Regions from separate parts of the Homo sapiens genome. Here region 2 is linked to region 1. Evidence: promoter capture Hi-C in human tissues and cell types (Jung and others, 2019). All regions are on one chromosome and are shown on one strand. Each heading gives the region's core, a stretch centred on a gene start or on the middle of the fragment in contact. The rest is flanking DNA. Distances are from core to core; before and after follow the strand shown. Region 1 holds the start of ANKAR (ankyrin and armadillo repeat containing). Region 2 has its middle 110 kb from the start of MSTN.

Region 1 (4,704 bases), core at 1,123-3,622:
CTTTTTGTCTATTTACTCCAACCTGACATCCACCCACATTACTCAACTGTTAACTGCCATACCAGTGTCACTGTGAAATCTGTCCATTAGGATCGACACCATTTCTGGATCTGGCCACCCTTTGATTCTTTAATCACAGTAGCAAATAAATTTTAGGATCCGGACAAACAGGTCAGTAACCTGGCAAAGGCTTTCACATGCCCCGAATTTATTCCCTGGAAGATGCAATGTTCAACCAAAATTTAGATACTGCCTACATAGCTTTCATCCCTCAATCTGAAAGCAGACAACTTCAAGTGTCTGTGTGGGCCTGAGCACTAAATTGACATTGCTTATATTGGGAGTAGATGAACTTAAGAGGTTTGCCCCACGGCCTAGAATTGAATATTATAACACCAATACAGTTTAATACTGAAAATAGCTATAACTTACATAATGCTATATTCCAGGTGCTACTCTACTCTATGAGATTTAAATGTATTAATCAGTCAAACTTTTATAAGGAATTTCCAGGTCATCTGCTCCACCAGAATACTGAGAGAGACAGAGAGAGGATACACATGCATGTGTGTGAACCCCAAGAGGGCCTGGGCATTTACAACCTTCTGCTATTCAATCCCATTAGCTCTGGGATGGAGTTCTGTGTTGATCCTTTAAAAAATGAGGCATCTCTTTCCGAAGATTTGAGACACATGGAACAAACCATTTGGCTACCCAGGGGGAAACAATCCTTGAAGTAGGAGAATGTACATATATGGTTCATATTTCTTAAGTGCAAACATGCAAATCTTTGTAAAAAAAAAAGCCCTGGAATAGTCCTCATAAATTTATTAATATTTATTTCCATAGTAGCTAAAATAATGACATGGTTACTGGAAGAGAAATTCTGCCCCAAACAGTCACCAAGAACTTCCAAGCTGCTGCATTCAGTGGAAGTTTGTTCTCATCTCCCCTGACCGAGCAGCAGCATCCGATAAAGTTGGCCATTCCTTTTTTTTTTTCCACACACTTCTTTGGCTTCTGTGACCAATTTTGGTTTTCCTCCTGCCTTCTTGGCTGTTCTTTTTGTCTTCTTTGCTGACTTCACTCTCTCTACCTGACGTTTAAATGTTAAATTTCTCAGGTCTCTAATCCTTGGTTCTCAACTCCTCATTCTGCACGCTCTCCCTTGGTGATTTCAACCCCACTCCTGGCTTCAATTACTATAAATCTGCCAAAATTTATACATCTAACCCCTACTGCCATTCTTAGCCCAGAACTGTTTATCTAAAGCATATCTCACATCTCAATTTCTCTCACAGGTACTTCAAGGTCAATTAGTACATAACTGAACTCTTAATCTTGCCCTGATATCCTGTTGCTCCTGACAGAAATGTGGTTCTGACTTGGACACAACCTTCTTTTTCAACATATCCCCAATCTGTCACCAACAGGCAACCTCATTATTTTTCAAATCTGTCCACAGTCCCTGAGCCCCACCTCCACTGCCACTACTGTAGGCTAATCCTTTGGGATGAAATTCAAAATCATTACTCAGCAGCCTGCATGATCTGTCCATCGCGCACCTCAGCAGCTCGGTTTGTGCCCACATCTCTCTTGTTCTCTAAGCAGGGTTTTGCGGTTTCTCAACCATTTCAACTTTGTTCTCACTTCAATTCTTTCTCTCCTGCTGTTCCCTGTTCCTGAAAAGCTACTTGTCCAGTCCTTTGCTTGGGTAGCTCTTTTCCATCTTCTAGGCTCGGAGGGGAAAAGGGCACTTCCTTAGGCAGCCTTTCCTAGCCCTGGGCTAGGTTAGCTTTCATTCGAGTGCTGTCATTCCATCTAATATTGGCACACTGTTAAATATAGCTGTGAGATGATCTGTTCAACTGTAAGCTCCTTGGGGTTTCGTGTCTGCCCTGTTTTCTAGGGTTTCCAGCTTGTAGCTGGGTGCCTGACTCATAATAGGTGTTCCATAAATGCTTGTTGAATGAAAGAATGATGATGGAGGTGGTATTCCAACTCGGGACTGCCTCAACGCCCGGCGCTGTCTCCTCTGCTACTCTGTTTCGGTGTTTTAGCAGAGGCAGATAGTGAGGGCGGCACAGTGCCCACGGCATGCCGCTGGACTAAGCGCTAAGCGGGCTTGGGATGATGCGCACGCGGGGGGTCTGAGCCAGCCAAGGGGCCGGGCGCCGCCTGGGGGCGCTGCGGCTGCTGCGGGACGCACCAGGCCTAGTCGCCCGCAGGCTCCGCCCGAGGAGCAGCCCAGCCACCCCAGGGCCCGGAGGACCAACCGCTTCGACCCGCGCCCGGGCGGCGGCAGTGTTGGCCGGCGAGGCGAGGAGGGCCGGGCCGCCACGGTGGGGCGAAAAGCCCTGAAAGTTCCTCTCAGTTCCTTCCGGTGCGCCTCCCGCTCGCCCTTGCGGAGGCCCTGAGGGCGGATTCAAGGCCCCGCGAGAAGCCATCTGAGGCGGCGACGACTGTTCTCAGCCCCACGGGAACGCCGCGGACGCAGCGTCCCTCTCCCGGACAAGAAAACAGCCATTCTAGAGTAGGTTCCTCCCCTTTCCTTGTTTTTTCCCCTTTCCCGTGCCCATGGCTGACGCGAGCTGCTTTTGGACGTGGGTCCCGGGCTTGACTGGACAGACGTGGGTTCTGTTTCTGAAAGGCGTAAAACCTCAGACTTGTCCTGCAACCTCCTGGTCTCCGTTTTTGCCTCTATAAAGTGGGCATAACAAGGTCTGACTCACTGACCTGGGGTCTCAGGTGTGGCGCCCAAACCAGCACTATCAGCATTTCCTGTAACTTTACTAAAACGCATATTTTCTGGCCCCACTACAGCTCATTGAATCAGAAACTCAGTGGTGGGATTCAGCGATTTGTATTTGAACAAGCCCCAGGTGATTTTGATACAAGCTAAATTTTGAGAACCACTATATAATAGAGACCAATCAGATGAAATAAATCAAACCATTATATAGTAAAGAACCTGGCTCAATAAATAGTAGTTGTGGTTATTATTATTTCAGGAATAGACAGGCATTCATTGGCACAGAAATTGAAGGTTAAGCAAATGCTTCTTTCCTTTTCTTTTTCTTTTTTTTTTCTTTTTTTGAAACAGTGTTTTTCACACTTGTTGCCCAGGCCACCGCAACCTCCGCCTCCTGGGTTCAGCCTCCTGTCTCAAGCCCCGCGAGTAGCTGAGATTACAGGCATGTACGACCACGTTTGGCTAATTTTGTATTTTTAGTAGAGACGGAGTTTCTCCATGTTTGTCAGGCTGTTCTCGAACTCCTGACATCAGTTGATCTGCCCGACTTGGCCTCCCAAAGTGCTGGGATTACACGCATGAGCCACTGCGCCCCACCCTTTTCTTTTCTTTCATGCAGGTCAGTATAGTCTTGCTTTAAAAAACTGAAAACAAAATAAATATCCATATGATTTGGATATTTATCCCCTCCAAATCTCATGTTAAAATAGATTCCCCAATGTTGGAGGTAGGGCTTGGTGCGAGGTGTTTGGATTATGGGGGTGGATCCCTCATGAATGGCTTGGTGCTTTCCTGGCAGAGTGAACTCTACCTCTGAGCTCATGAAAGATCTGGTTGTTTAAGAGTAGACACCTCCCCTTTCTCTCTATTGTTCCGTCTCTTACCATGTGACACACTGGCTCCCCTTCCCCTTCCGCCATGATTGTAAGCTTGGTCTCACAAGAAGCTGAGCAGATGCTGGTGCCATGCTTGTACAGCCTGCAGAATTGTGAGCCAAATAAACCTCTTTTCTTTATAAATTATGCAGTCTCAGGTATTCCTTTATAGCAACACAAACAGACTAACACGAACATATACAAAAGAATGCCTCTCCAACAACAAAATAGGTATGTAACAGTAGCTTCTCACAGATAAACTTAACGTTTCTTTTTGACATACATCTTCTTGTCTTTTGAATTCTTTGAAAAGCAGAACATGGTTAATGATAAAGGTTTTATAATTTTAATTATTTTAATTCAAATTTCAGTTTTCATATACTGCAGTTATTTTTAATTTGAAAACTATAATGGTTGACCATGAAAAATTAATCTTATGTAGGTGAAAGGTACAGATTTATTTCTAGACAAATCCAGTTTCATTGGCATGTCAGATTTTATTGATAATCTTTTCCTTCTTATTCATTGCAGAAGCTTCAAAAAGGACACACTAGATTTAATTAGAAATGTTAAGATTGCCCAAAAAAGGATTACCTAGATTTGAGCAAGTTCAGGATGAAGACACCTACCTGGAAAATTTAGCAATACAAAGAAATGCATCTGCTTTTTTTGAAAAATATGATCGGAGTGAAATACAAGAGTTACTAACTACTGCACTAGTTAGCTGGTTGTCTGCCAAAGAGGATGTGCGCTCTCAAGTAGACCTCCCATGTGGAATTATGAGTCAAATGAATAACGTAGGCTTCTCCACTGCAATCCTACTGACTCCCGTGGACCCTACTGCCCTCTTAGACTATAGAGAGGTCCATCAAATGATAAGAGAGTTGGCTATTGGAATTTATTGCCTAAATCAAATCCCTTCCATCAGTTTAGAAGCTAATTATGATCAGAGTTCTTCTTGTCAATTACCTCCAGCTTATTATGATACCAGAATTGGGCAAATTCTGATCAATATTGACTACATGCTGAAAGCACTATGGCATGGAATATATATGCCCAAAGAAAAACGAGCTAGAT
Region 2 (4,352 bases), core at 79-2,578, 270 kb after region 1:
TTCAAAAATGGAGATAAATGAAGAAAGTATGATGGTATAATGTAACAAGTTTTGGACTTTATATCAAGGAAGCTAGGGTTCAGTCTCCACTCCAGCACAAATTCACAAAACTATCATGGAGAAATTACTCAAACTTCCCAGGATACTTTATAAATTTCTTCCTTTATAAAAGTGAAGTTATTAGACTAGGTGGTCTTAACTTCAGAATCCTTGATTGTATGAATTAGAACCCTAAAGGATTAGGGGATTATAATATATAGCGTAAAATAGCATAAATACAGCGTTAAAAGATACTTTTGTTTCTGATCTTATATGAATCTATCTCTTAGGTACTATGAAACTTCAAAGATAGAAGTTTAAAGCTGGGAGCAGGCTCATGCCTATAATCCCAATGGCTTGGGTGGCTGAGGTGGGAGGATTACTTGAGGCCAGAAGTTCAATATGAGCCTGAGCAACATAGGCCCTGCCTCTAGAAATTTTTTTCTTAAAGTTTAGTGCTTTCCTATGACCCTAGTTTTAAAAACAAGTATATTTAAGAGTTTAACGACCTGAAAGTAGCATTGGAACATTGTAGTACCAAAAAAAGAAAAATAATATGATTTTTAGACACTTGAACTTCCTGTTTCTCCTTTTAGCCATTAAAACATTTTTAGTCCCCAAATTCTGAAATTATCTGAAGTTATCTCTTAGATTACTAGATTTTTAGTCACAGTAAATAGGTACATGTGTCATAGGAATATATTTCTTTCTTAAATCTTCAAATAAAGATTTTAAAACAAATGTTTTTATACTTTTTCAAATGCTTTTATTCTTTGGTTTTGCATTTCATACCAGAAAGCTAGCTTTCCCTGATATATAGTTACATAAGAGTAGTAATCAGTGATCAGTACACATAAAAATTATTTTAAAATTTAGCTCATTATTTTCAAATTGTGCTTTCCTACACTGACATTAGCCTATGCTTAGTGCAGCTTTGGGATCATTTAGACCTAGATTCAAATCTCAGCTTTGTCACTTATCGGCCATATATAAGTTGTTCAAACTTTCTAAGCCTCAGTTTCATTTCTTTCTTTTTTCAAAATGGAGTGAAAATATCTGTCTTATGAAATTGTTCATTAAGGATTAAGTGAGCAAACACAAAAGTGCCTAGCACTGATAAATTTTTCTTTTATTCCTAAAAGTTAGCAAATTTAACAGTGCACTATTAGACCCAACAATTGGGTTTTCGTTTTAGCCCATATGAAGAACTAGTAACAGAAAGAAGATCAGTTTGCTCTCTTAATTTCCATCCTATTCCATTTGCACATAAAAGAATGGAAATAACCCACCCATTTCTTTGGCTTGATATATGGCTATTTTATATTTTTTCACATCGTTGGCACTGAATAGTTTTCATACATGGATTATTAGGTAGTCAAATCATTTTTATAAGTATACAATTTTAAACTATTTCACTAGTGCTTAAATTATTTCCATTTATTCTAGCACTAGTAACTAAATTTATAAAATATTTAATGAAAAGGCAATAATGACACTTTGTCACCAGAAAGATGCAGGTTTGAATCCCAATACTGGATGTGATCTTGGGCTAGCTGCATAATCTCTAAGCTTAAATTTCCTCGGCAATTAAATGATGATAATAATTATTTAGCATGGTACATGGAACATAAACACTCAAAAAAAGTTGTATATCATCATCATTATTAAGTGATAATAATATATTTAACCCTATATGGATTATGTATGGATTAACCTTATATGGGTTAAATCTGTAACCCATATAGATTACTCTTGGTGATTTCTAATTCTAACCACTCTAGCTGACTTTTAGTGATTTCCGATTCTAACCAGAGTTTTCAAATCTATGTGAAGAATAAACCTATTATTCAAAAGCACATACTTTGTTGATGGCAGACCAATAATATTATCTTTTTGTTACATGGAAATTTGAAGCAATAGGTTTATGTTACTAAGATTCTTGACAAACAGCTTTACCAAATTCATCATCAGTGTTGGGCTATGCCAGTCTAACTTGGTGGAAAATTTGAATCATGAAATATTTAACGTATAATAAGTACATTTGTTTACCTCCTGTGAGACTTATCACAGCGGTAAGTACATTGTAGGCAGTGTACTAATTACTTTATTAATGTTGACTTAATTTCTATATGTTGGGAGAATTAAAAATGTATAGCATTCTTCATGTACTAGCAAATGGTATTCTGAAAGTTAATAAGAAAGAAATTAATTCATTTTAACTTCTTAGAGGGTCAAAAAATTAATTCACAAATATTAAAAATCATTTTTACCAAGCCTTGTTACAGATTCTGAAAATGAGATTCAGATGAGAAGAATAATTTTCTTTGTCTCTGTTTAGCTTAGAGGACATATGCCTGTTTTTTTTGCATTTAATTTTTACACTTAGCTTTTTAAAAAATAGTTTTTTCCTTAGTACAGTAACGTGTACCTCCCTGAAAAACTTCAGGCAATTTGGAGAACAAAATAAAAATTACCCACAGTTTTGCTCCCCTGCATTACCCACTGTGAACATTTCAGTCTGTCTCTTCTAGGCTCTATTTTTTAACAATGTATGTACATCCACCCCCATAAACATGGTAGGACCATGTCTGTCTATGTTACTACATTAAACTTATAGCGCCACTTTATCAATTGCCTTATGACTTTTTCTATTAGGGTCTTAATTTTTTAGCTTATTTTTAAGTGTTCTTTTATGTCAGACATACATAACATGTCAACATATATATAGCGTATACATAACAAAGTCCTGTGACACTTATTTGTGGTACTTTTTTCCTGTCATACAAATTTTCAATTTTTATTTAGTAAAATCATTTTTTTTTCTTATTTATATGTTTTGGTATTCAGCTTAGAAAGACCTTTCACCTCAAGATTATGTAGGTATTTAAACTTTTTTTTTTAAGTTCTTTTGTGATTTTTGTTTTGTTTTTCTAGTTCTTATGTGGTTTTATTTTACATTTAACTCTTAATCCTTTGCTAAACGCTTAAAGTACTTTGAAGGCCTAATCTAGGAAGTAGGAAAATACAGTTGTCCCTCAGTATTCACAATGAGGATTGGTTCCAGGGCATCCCCCACCTCCCAGCAGACAGCAAAATCTTTGCATACTCAAGTCCCACAATCCTGTGAAAACCAAGTATACAAAAAGCCGGCCCTCAGTATCTGCGGGTTTCACATCAGACAAATACCTCATTTTCCATCTGCCTTCAGTTGCAGATGCAGAACCCGTAGATGTGGAGTGCTGACTGTTTTTATTGAGAAAAAAAGCCGGGCGCGATGGCTCACACCTGTAATCCCAGCACTTTGGGAGGCCAAGGCGAGTGGATCACGAGGTCAGGAGTTCAAAACTAGCCTGACCAAGATGGTGAAACCTCATCTCTATTAGCCAGGCACAGTGGCGGGCACCTGTAATCCAAGCTACTCAGGAGGCTGAGGTTACAGTGAGCTGGGATCAGGCTACTGCACTCCAGCCTGGGTGACAGAGTCTCTGTCTCAAAAAAAGAAAAAAAAAAAGGAAAAAAGAAATCCAGATATAAGTGGATCTACACAGTTCAAATCTGTGTTATTCAAGGGTCAATTATGTATGCATAGGTAAACCCAATAGTTGTTACCTACTTTTTCTTTCTTTTTTTTTTTTTTTTTTTTTAGAGATGAGTCTCACTCTCACCAGGCTGGAGTGCAGTGGCACAATCTCGGCTCACTGCAACCTCCGCCTCCCGGGTTAAAGTGATTCTCCTGCCTCAGCCTCACGAGTAGCTGGGACTACAGGTGCATGCCACCATGCCCAACCAATTTTTGTACTTTTAGTAGAGATGGGGTTTCACCATGTTGTCCAGGATGGTGTCAATCTCTTGACCTCGTGATCTACCTGCCTCGACCTCCCAAAGTGCTGGGATTACAGACGTGAGCCACCACGCCTGGCCTGTTACCTACTTTTAAGTGTCCTGAAATGTAACTCTTCCAAGGTTTGAAAGTCTAAAGTTACAGAATCAATCATGTTATCTTAGTTTTTTGGTTTTGGGTTTTTTTTTTTTTTTTTGAGATGAAGTCTCGCTCTTGTCCCCAGGCTGGAGTGCAATGGCAAGATCTCAGCTCACTGCAACTTCCATCTCCCAGATTCAAGTGATTCTCCTGCCTCAGCATCCCAAGTAGCTGGGATTACAGGTGCCTGCCATGATGCCCGGCTAATTTTTGTATTTTTAGTAGAGATGGGGTTTCACCATGTTGGCCAGGCTGGTCTCGAACTCCTAACCTCAGATGATCCGCCTGCCTCAGCCTCCCAAAGTGCTGGGAGTACAGGCGTGAGCCATGGCGC

Evidence for each region. The method cuts DNA at HindIII sites, captures the fragments that hold promoters and counts their contacts. A contact is called where the count stands out against the background at its distance.
Region 2: a contact is called between a fragment that was not itself captured here and the fragment with the promoter of ANKAR in region 1, in 1 of the 25 tissues and cell types used here (IMR-90 fibroblasts).

What each region holds. Positions count from the first base shown.
Region 1 is chr2:189,672,298-189,677,001 of GRCh38, forward strand. ANKAR (ankyrin and armadillo repeat containing) reads left to right here and starts at 2,373. Exons shown (of 23, transcript NM_001378068.1): 1 at 2,373-2,533; 2 at 4,159-4,704. The coding sequence starts at 4,194. LOC105373793 (a long non-coding RNA gene) reads right to left here and starts at 1,988. Exons shown (of 2, transcript XR_923692.3): 1 at 1,534-1,988; 2 at 823-1,096. RefSeq lists a silencer at 2,029-2,448 and an enhancer at 2,499-2,758. The HindIII fragment of the contact is 7,879 bases long and covers 1-3,921 here.
Region 2 is chr2:189,945,970-189,950,321 of GRCh38, forward strand. It overlaps a transcript of AKAP19 not described here. Among named protein-coding and RNA genes, the nearest start is that of MSTN, 110 kb to the right of the region's middle. The HindIII fragment of the contact is 4,576 bases long and covers 1-3,616 here.